Regions from separate parts of the Homo sapiens genome. Here region 2 is linked to region 1. Evidence: promoter capture Hi-C in human tissues and cell types (Jung and others, 2019). All regions are on one chromosome and are shown on one strand. The core of a region is centred on a gene start or on the middle of the fragment in contact, and the rest is flanking DNA. Distances in the headings are between cores, read along the strand shown.

What was found. The method cuts DNA at HindIII sites, captures the fragments that hold promoters and counts their contacts. A contact is called where the count stands out against the background at its distance.
Region 2: a contact is called between a fragment that was not itself captured here and the fragment with the promoter of NKIRAS2 in region 1, in 1 of the 25 tissues and cell types used here (dorsolateral prefrontal cortex).

What each region holds. Positions count from the first base shown.
Region 1 is chr17:42,016,604-42,021,674 of GRCh38, reverse strand. NKIRAS2 (NFKB inhibitor interacting Ras like 2) reads right to left here and starts at 1,585. Exons shown (of 4, transcript NM_017595.6): 1 at 1,471-1,585; 2 at 4-111. The coding sequence starts at 97. It overlaps DNAJC7 (DnaJ heat shock protein family (Hsp40) member C7), which reads left to right and starts at 4,236. Exons shown (of 14, transcript NM_003315.4): 1 at 4,236-4,335. The coding sequence starts at 4,259. RefSeq lists silencers at 1,292-1,701, 3,928-4,077 and enhancers at 4,188-4,597, 4,668-4,717, 3,828-5,027. The HindIII fragment of the contact is 10,906 bases long and covers 1-5,071 here.
Region 2 is chr17:43,114,255-43,118,934 of GRCh38, reverse strand. It overlaps BRCA1 (BRCA1 DNA repair associated), which reads left to right. Exons shown (of 23, transcript NM_007294.4): 3 at 3,156-3,209. Among named protein-coding and RNA genes, the nearest start is that of BRCA1, 8.8 kb to the left of the region's middle. The HindIII fragment of the contact is 5,789 bases long and covers 405-4,680 here.

The DNA of each region.
Region 1 (5,071 bases), core at 336-2,835:
CACCCACTACATGGTTCCCATACAGAAGCTGCTCCAGGATTGAAGTTTTGCCCACAGACGCCTGGCCACACACGACCACCTTGCAGCTCTTCCCCATGCTTAGTTTTCAACCTTGAAGAACAGAAGCACGCTGGGTAAGGTGAGGAAAGAAAGCATCAACACAGAAGGCAGTTACTAGCAGATGTTTTCTGGTGGACAAAAACAAAAACCAAAAAAACAGAAGGCAGAACGTCCATAACTGAGAGTTCTAAACTGAATGTATAGTTCTAAACTGAATGTATAGTTCCAGGGTTTCAGCACCATCCCAATGCTAGTCAGAGGAAACGGATGTCTCCATGTCTACTACTGGATGGTAAGCTGTTATTTTATTCGTCTTTGTTATCCCCAGTACCTAGCCAGTATCTGTCACAGGGCAGGTGCTTGGAAATGCTGCCATAAAGGGAGAGGAGAGTCACTGGCCACTGGGCCAGGTTCCCTTCTGTGCGCAAGATGTAGAGGACCAATTAGTAAAGGGAGCTCAGCCCAGCTTCCTCTCTTTAACCATGACCCCATGGAGAATTAAGCAGGAACAGTGTTTTGTGTGGCTGTCTGAAGCCATCTGCTCCCTGGGGGGACTGAGCAAATAAAAAGGATAATCTGGGGCAGGGCACGGTGGCTCACGCCTGTAATCTCAGCACTTCGGGAGGCCGAGGTGGGCAGATCACAAAGTCAGGAGTTCGAGACCAGACTGGCCAACATAGTGAAACCTCATCTCTACTAAACATACAAAAAATTAGTCAGGCGTGGTGGCGGGTGCCTGTAATCCCAGCTACTTGAGAGGCTGAGGCAGGAGAATCGCTTGAATCCAGGAGGCGGAGATTGCAGTGAGCCAAGAATATGCCACTGCACTCCAGCCTGGGCGGCAGAGCAAGACTCCGTCTCAAAAAAAGACAATCTGCTTTCCTGTACGACTCATCTGGACAACAATCAATTCCCTCTAAACTCCAGTCAAGTCTATGGCTAAAATGAACATAAGACAAGAGAGAAAAGAATGAAGAAACCTACGGAAAAAAAGGCTTCAGAAAGGACATACTTTTTGCTGCCCTTGGACTGACAGACACAAAAGAGAAAGCTCAGATACAGAAACCCTAAGAGGTCCCAGACAGATATCTCCCCGAAGGCAAACTTCCAAACACAAGCCCCCCAAAAGCTCCAGACAAAGATCCCCCCCAGAGAGCAGAGATAGATCACTCCCAAAGACGGTCCCTAACAGAAACCTCTCCAGGGGAAGCTCCTGACACAGACCCCCTCTCCATATAGCGAGCCCCACAATAAAGGACACCATAAGAGTGGGCCAGAGGTGCCTCCGCCACAGATTTTCTCACGGGGGAGCCCCCAGAGGGAATGAGAGGCAGAGACCAGCCACCTAAAGCGGCCCGGAGGCGGAGGCCGATCCTAGCGCCGGACGAGCCTCGCCTCCCAGGTCCGTACCTCCCGGGGCCCCCGCAGCACCAGCCGGGCCCTCCGAGCTCGCGGGGACCAGGGGAGGGGCAGCGCCGCCGCAAAGGCTCCAGTCTTCCTCCAGAGTCGGTGTAGGCTCCTCCAGGCCCCGCCCCCGCCGCCTGCCCGCTCCCCAGCTTCCGTCAGGCAAGACGAATTCCGGCAGCGGAGAGAGAGCGCGGACCGCGCAGCTCCCCCAGAGGCCGGCGGGAGAATGACGGCCAGGACCTGGCCTGGGTGTGCGCGGGAGCCCAAGGTTCTAGACTCCCTGGACGCGGGCCGCTGGGTGTTCTGGTGTCTCTGAGGCCCAGATGTTCTCTCTGTAAAGGCGATCAGAGTACAGTAACTCTTCGTTTACTCAATCATTTATTCGTCAAATGTTTTCTGAGCATCATCTGTCTGTGCCTGGTGCAGGGCCATATACTGAGAGAAAGTGGACGAGTTAGACATGGTGGCTGCCCATCAGAACTCACGGTCTAGAGAAGCTAGATGTCTAACAACTACTGAGGTGCTGTGGAGCACAGCAAAAGGGCATTTAACGTTGAGTCAGCAGACACTGAAGGGCCTGGGGGAAAGGGTGTTCTAGGGTGGAGGAAACGGCTACAAGTCATGGCATTTTCTGAAACTATGAGAACTTGGGTTCAATATTGGTGGTAGAAAGGACCTAAATATTGGTACTCAAATTAAATTATTTAAAAAAAGAAACAGATAATCAAAGGCTTTGTGTGGTAGGCCAAAGAGATCAAATTGACGGCAATGGAAAGCCATTGCCAATGAAGAGACATGATCAGTCCCTGAGGAAGGTCACTCTGGCAGAAGAGGGAAGACTGAACAGAGATGAAATTAGAGACCGATTAGGAGACTATTGATGTATTCCAAGTTTTTTTTTCTGTTGTTTTGTTGTTGTTGTTGTTGCCGTTTTTGAGACAGGGTCTTGCTCTTTTCTCCATGCTGGAGTACATTGGTGTGATCATAGCTCACTGCAGCCTCTAACTCCTGGGCTCAAGTGATCCTCCTGCCTCAGCCTCCCAAATAGCTGGGACTACAGATGCATGCCACCACACCCAGCCTATTCCAAGATTTTAAAAAATGATGAGCGCCTGAATCGGGATGGAAAGGTGGAGATAGATTTGGGAAATATTTGGTAGGAGAATCAACAAAACTTGGCAACAAATTGGAAGCCAAGAGTGAGAATGGTTTAATCCATTTAACAAGATACGGAATTTAGGAAAGATAATAATTACATCCAACATTTGTTTTTTCTGTTGTTGAGGTGTGGGTAGACAATGAAAAAGTTAAATTTAAATATGGTAAGCCTTGGGGATTTGTGAAACATACAAGAGATATCCAGTAGATAGTTGGATATACAGCTGTGGAAGCTGAAGAAAGGTCTAGGTTGGAGATATGAAAAGTTGAGAGTCATCAACAGATGGAAGTAAAGCTGTGGGAATAAATGAGTTGCCTTAGATAGAACATAAAGTGGGAAGATGGTGAGACAGGTTGGCTAGCATTAGACTGGACTATGAGCCACTGGCAGGCAGGGCAGGTGGTCTGTAAGTCTTGTGCCCTCACAACCTAGCACAGAGTAGGCGTTTTGGAAAGGGCTGAGTGATTGGCTCAACGAATGACCCCTCCTTTCCAACCTAGTGAGCTTGTCCTATCCCTCCCTACTCAGTGGTCGCTGTGGTTTCAGCTCCCTCCACACTGGGATAGGCAGAGTATGAGCATTGGCACATGCTGTTTTCCTGGAACAAACAGGTAAATCCTTTTAAAATTCCTTTGCCCTCTTCTTATTTTACTCTTAGCTTTACATTGTAAAGCTACTCCTCATACTCCTCCAATTTAACCCCAGAAAGCTCCAATTTAATTCAGCTCCACAAATAGTCGTTTGGGTGAGGGAATAACAACAAAGACAGTTAAACTGTGCCCTTGTCCCCTATGAATTCTCAATCCAGACCGCATTCGGCAAGGCAAGCGTGATGAGTAGAGAGTTTATATAAGAGGTGGGAGTACTGGGGACACAAGAGCAAGGACCTCACCCCGCGAGCTTCCTTATAAACTCCAGGGCAGGGTCTGGGGCGCCATGTGTCAGCTTTCCTAGGCTTAATGCTGAGATGGCACTCCCAGGCGGCTGACATGAAAGGAGCCTTGTAAAAGGGTCAGCGTCATTAGGGTGATGAACCAGTTGGTGTTTGGAGATCCGGAGTGGATGAAAGGCGCAGGGTGAAGACGCCCTGCGTTCCCCTGGCTTGACTGGGCAGGGCTTCCAGAGAACGATGAAAGCTGGGGGAACTGAGCTCAAAGTGTCTCTTGACTTTCCCGGGAAGAAGCTGTGGACACACTCCAAGGTCGGAAAGGTAGCAGTGGGGACTCCTTCCCTACAGAGTCTTGGGTCACCTGGTCCCCACGCAACCCAGACTCCACGGAGCCTTTCAGGAAGACTCTCTAGGATTGGAAGTTGCTATGGCAATGAGGCTCTTGGAATACTGAAAGCAGCCAAGCCCTAGAGAGGCTACCACCGGTACACCCCGCCTTCCCACCCACGGGTAAAGTGGCGCCGCCTACGCACCGGCACAGCCCCTGGGCTCCCGCCCCGGCGCGGAGACCACCGTGGACATCCGGGGGCGGGAGGCCGCTCTGGCCCCAAGCGGAGCCTCTCTCTGGTAGACGAGCCCGAGGGAGCCCTTCTGGGCGCGGCGCCGCGGAGCTGCTCTATGCTCCAACCGGAAGTGCTCTTCACCGCCGGCCTCCCACCCAGCTCTCTGGTCCCGGCGGTAAGATGGCGGCTGCCGCGGAGTGCGATGTGGTAATGGCGGCGACCGAGCCGGAGCTGCTCGACGACCAAGAGGCGAAGAGGTAACCGGGTAGCAGGGTAGTAGAGGAGGCGACCTGCAGCTCCGTGGCTCAGGGAAACTCGTTCCTGCCATGATGCAGCCCCCAGCTGTTGAGGCGATGCCCCGCCCTCCGCAAACACCCCCCCATCTGAGATCAAGGCCGGATGGACCCCCTGAAGGGGCGCTCTTGGGGGTCGGCCTTCCTCTCCCGCTTCCGCCTGGCGTAGGAGCTGAGGCATGGCCTTGTTCTCCAGCTGAGAGGACGATCGTCCTTATAGGAGAGGCCGAGTCTCCGAGGGCAATTTCAGAGGTCTGGTGCGAGGTGGGGGAAGCGGCGCGGCGTCGATGACGACTTCCTTACATCGCCCCCGACCCCCGCGTTCTCTTGTTAACTTCTGTGCATTGTTGCCTGTCTGCACTTTCCGTCTCCAAAACCTTTGCTCTCCTCACCCCGTTTTCCCTTGTAATTATACCCCAGCGATCACTAGTCTGGGTTCGAAGTGATTGTGTGTCTCCATAATTGACCTGGTTGCCCCCGGTTATCCCAGAAGTCAAAGATGACAGAGAAAAAAAGGAAGAGCGAGGGGCTTATCTCGTGTTCTCTACGTCAGACTCCTCTTCCCCTGTCCTTCCTGGGTGATCTTTATCCTTCCCAGCACTGTTCTTTCTTAAGTTAAGCACCAAGGAAGAGGGCAACTGCTTGGGCGCTGTTGGCACTCCGAAGCAGCCGCAGTGGTTCGAGATTGCCAGTCGGACTA
Region 2 (4,680 bases), core at 2,050-4,549, 1.1 Mb before region 1:
AAAATTAGCCGGGTGTGGCAGCACGCGCCTGTAGTCCCAGCTACTTGGAATGCTGAGGCACAAGAATCACTTCAATCCGAGAGGCAGAGGTTGCAGTGAGCCAAGACCACACCACTGCACTCCAGCCTGAGCAGCAGAGTGAGTGAGACTCCATCTCCAAAAAAAAAAAAAAAGGTTCACATTCAGAAGAAAGCTAAAGGCCGGGTATAGTAGCTCACACCTGTAATCCCAGCACTTTGGGAAGCCGAAGCAGGAAGATTGCTTGATGCCAGGCATTCAAGACCAGCATGGGCATCATAGTGAGATCCTGTCTCTACAAAAATTAATTAACATTAAAAATTAAAAAGATGGCTGGCATGGTGGCTCACTCCTGTAATCCCAGTACTTTGGGAGGCCAAGGCATGGTGGTGCATGCCTTTAGTCCCAGCTACTCGGGAGGCTGAGGCAGGAGAATCACTTGAATTCAGGAGGCGGAGGTTACAGAGAGCCGAGATGGTGCCACTGCACTCCAGCCTGGGCGACAGAACGAGACTCTGTCTGAAAAAAAAAAAGAAAATTAAAAAGACCAGAATAAAGCTAAAGATTTAAAATAGCCTATAGGTTCCTACCAGAAGTTACCAGCTACCTCTCTGATAGTCTTTCCCTACAATATCCTCCTGGATTATTACATTTTAGCACCTTGACCTATCTGATGTCCTGCATACACAGGCATGGTCCTGCTCAGGGTTTGCCTTCTCTGCTCCCTCTTTCTTGGAATGCTCTTCCCCTAATTGTTGCATAGTGTGTTTCTTTACATTATTAAGCTATCCTCTAGTCTCACCTCAGTGAAACCTTTCCTGACTCCCCCCATGTACATCTCACCCCCACATAGATATTGAACTACCTGTTTCCCCTTACCCTGCTTAATTTTTCTCTTTAATGCACTTATTCCCATGTATTCTTTAATTCCGTATCAACTGTCTACCACACTAGAATATGAGCTCTATGAGAGCAGGCTTTATTTTGTAAACTGCTACATTTCTATCTCCTAGAATAGTACTTGAATATAGTAGTAGATACTTAATAAACACTTGTTATATTAGTATAATAAATGAACTAATCTCAGGAATGCCTTGGTTTTGTGGATAGACAGGTAGGGATGGGAACTTGGGTGATGTATTTTCTGAAGTTTTTATTTTTAAGCTTATTATTATTTTGAGATGGAGTCCAGCTCTGTCGCCCAGGTTGGAGTACAGTGGCGCGATCTTGGCTCACTGCAACGTGCACTTCCCCGGTTCAAGCGATTCTCCTGCCTTAGCCTCCCAAGTAGCTGGGATTACAGGCGCATGCCACCATGCCCAGTTAGTTTTGGTATTTTTAGTAGAGACAGCGTTTCACTGTGTTGGCCAGGCTGGTCTCGAAATCCTGACCTCATGATCCGCCCGCCTCGGCCTCCCAAGTGCTGGGATTACAAGCATGAGCCCCCGTGTCTGGCCTTATTTTCTTTTTTTTGAGACAGAGTCTTCCTCTGTCACCTAGGCTGGAGTGCAGTGGCACGATATTGGCTCACTCTGCAACCTCCACCTCCAGGATTCAAGTGATCCTTCTACCTTAGTCTCCAAAGTAGCTGAGACCACAGGCATGCGCCACCACGCCCGGCTAATTTTTGTATTTTTAGCGTAGACAGGGTTTCACCATATTGTCCAGGATGATCTGGAACTCCTGAGCTCAGGTGATCCACCCACCTCAGCCTCCCAAAGTGCTAGGATTACAGGCATGAGGCACCATGCCCGGCCTTAAGCTTATCATTTTCTAAATTTCCTTTAGTGAGTACTTATTACACTGTTTTTACAAAGTAATCACAAACCAAACATCATGCCTCTTCTGAAGTGATCTAATAAGAGTACACAGTACCATCTGTAAAGTGTTCTTGCCAGAAAGTTGAACCTGAATGATTAAGCCTGTAAGTCTAGTTTATAGGAAATAAGGCTAGAGGAACAAGTTAAACCTCACCATAGGGTTATACAATCAGCAAAATCCAGAATGGGGGAAACTCCACAGGTCAAATGACCTAATTTTAAAAATAAATGACAAGGGAGAAAAAGTAAGAGACACCTATAGATCAGAAGACACTTGGGGCTGGGCATGGTGGCTCACACCTGTAATCCCAGCACTTTGGGAGGCCAAGGCAGGCGGATCACCTGAGGTCAGGAGTTCAAGACCAGCCGGCCAACATGGTGAAACCCCAACTCTACTAAAAATACGAAAAATCAGCCGGGCGTGGTGGCGCACGCCTGTAGTTCCAACTACCTGGGAGGCTGAGGCAGGAGAATCACTTGAACTTGGGAGGCAGAGGTTGCAGTGAGCCGAGATCGCACCATTGCATGCCAGTCTGGGCTACAAAAGCAAAACCCCATCTCAAAAAAAAGAAGACACTTGGGTTTGGGTGTGTTGGCTCATGCCTGTAAACCCCGTGCTGGGAGGATTGCTTGAGCCCAGGAGTTCAAGGCTGCAGTGAGGTATGTTTGCACCACTGCACTCCAGCCTAGGTGACAGAGTGTGACCTTATCTTAAAAGTAATAATAATTAAAATAATCTGGGGTAGGGGTGGATATGGGTGAAACAGCTTGGCCATGAGTTGATGGTTGTTGGACCAGGGTGATGGTCCATATAGTTCATTTTATTATTTTATTTACTTGAAATTTTGAAATACTTGAAATTTTCCATATTAAGTTAAAAAGGCATTTACAGTAAACAAAAAAAAGTTCTAGGAAGGAATTCAAAAGAAATATAAGCAGAAAATTTTGTCTTTATGGAGCTTAAAGATGAGATGTGCACCCACAGTGATAGTGCAGAAAAATATATCACTGGAAATGAATTCGTACGAACTATTATCAACTAATCTTTTAAATGCTGATGATAGTATAGAGTATTGAAGGGATCAATATAATTCTGTTTTGATATCTGAAAGCTCACTGAAGGTAAGGATCGTATTCTCTGCTGTATTCTCAGTTCCTGACACAGCAGACATTTAATAAATATTGAACGAACTTGAGGCCTTATGTTGACTCAGTCATAACAGCTCAAAGTTGAACTTATTCACTAAGAATAGCTTTATTTTTAAATAAATTATTGAGCCTCATTTATTTTCTTTTTCTCCCCCCCTACCCTGCTAGTCTGGAGTTGATCAAGGAACCTGTCTCCACAAAGTGTGACCACATATTTTGCAAGTAAGTTTGAATGTGTTATGTGGCTCCATTATTAGCTTTTGTTTTTGTCCTTCATAACCCAGGAAACACCTAACTTTATAGAAGCTTTACTTTCTTCAATTAAGTGAGAACGAAAAATCCAACTCCATTTCATTCTTTCTCAGAGAGTATATAGTTATCAAAAGTTGGTTGTAATCATAGTTCCTGGTAAAGTTTTGACATATATTATCTTTTTTTTTTTTTTTGAGACAAAGTCTCGCTCTGTCGCCCAGGCTGGAGTGCAGTGGCATGATCTTGGCTCACTGCAACCTCCGCCCCCCGAGTTCAAGCGATTCTTCTACCTCAGCCTCCCAGGTAGCTGGGACTACAGGCACCCGCCACCATGCTTGGCTAATTTTTGTACTTTTAGTAGAGATAAGGTTTCACCATATTGGCCAGGCTGGTCTCGAACTCCTGACCTTGTGATCCACCTGCCTCGGCCTCCCAAAGTTCTGGGATTACAGGCGTGAGCCACCACACCCGACTGACATATATTATCTATTAGGATGTAACATCATTTTGAACAGTGTTTTGTATTTTTTGTGTCCATCAGTGAAAGCAAACTGCAAGCAGTTTTGAAATAAGCACATTGTGTTTGAGCCTTCCCAGTTTCTCCTTTCTGTTCATTTCTGCATATCCTTATGCATTCCCCCTTCTAAGGGTCAGTGTTTGCCCGCTTTGTAATCATTGTGAAGACAGGAAAGGACCTGATACCAGTTTCTATTTAGGCCAAAATTCATTTATAGCAGTGATTCAAGTTATATTTACGTATTTGATGATCTTGTCTTTTGAAATGAAAATGTTTGTTTCTTAATAAAAGAATTTCAGAAAAAGTAGAGTAGGTAATTTAGTAGAACAAGTGGGCTTTCTCCTTTTCTTTATGTTAAGCTATGGCTCACATCTTACCTTAAATGTCAACTAATTTGTTTTTAAGTATTTATGTACCTGGTACATAACCTGGTACCAGGTACAAACTATGTACTTGGTAAAAAGTTTATTAGCACAAAAAGGTATATGATGCAAAGTATACTTCCCTCTTACCCTACAACCCCTGCCTCCCTGTTCCCTCCCCAGACAACCACAATGATCAATTTCTTATGTATCCTTTGAGGAATTTTTAAATTCCAGAGTTCTTAACTTGGGGTTTATGAATAGTCTTTATGAATTTCCTAGAATTATATTTAAATTGTATTCAAAACTATGGCCATGTACATTTTTCTGGGAAGATAGTCCATAATTTTCATCTGAGTGAGCTAAGATCATGCCACTGCATTCCAGCCTGGGCGACAAGAGGGAGACTCAAAAAAAAAAAAAAAAGTCCCAGTATTTACTACAGAGAGCTAAAGATTAACCTTTAAAGCCCTGGGGCTTTCAATTTATCTGGATGAGAATCTTTCTGGAATGAACTGTATGTTTTCTTGTCAGCTTGAGTAACAAATGCTGAACATACTAT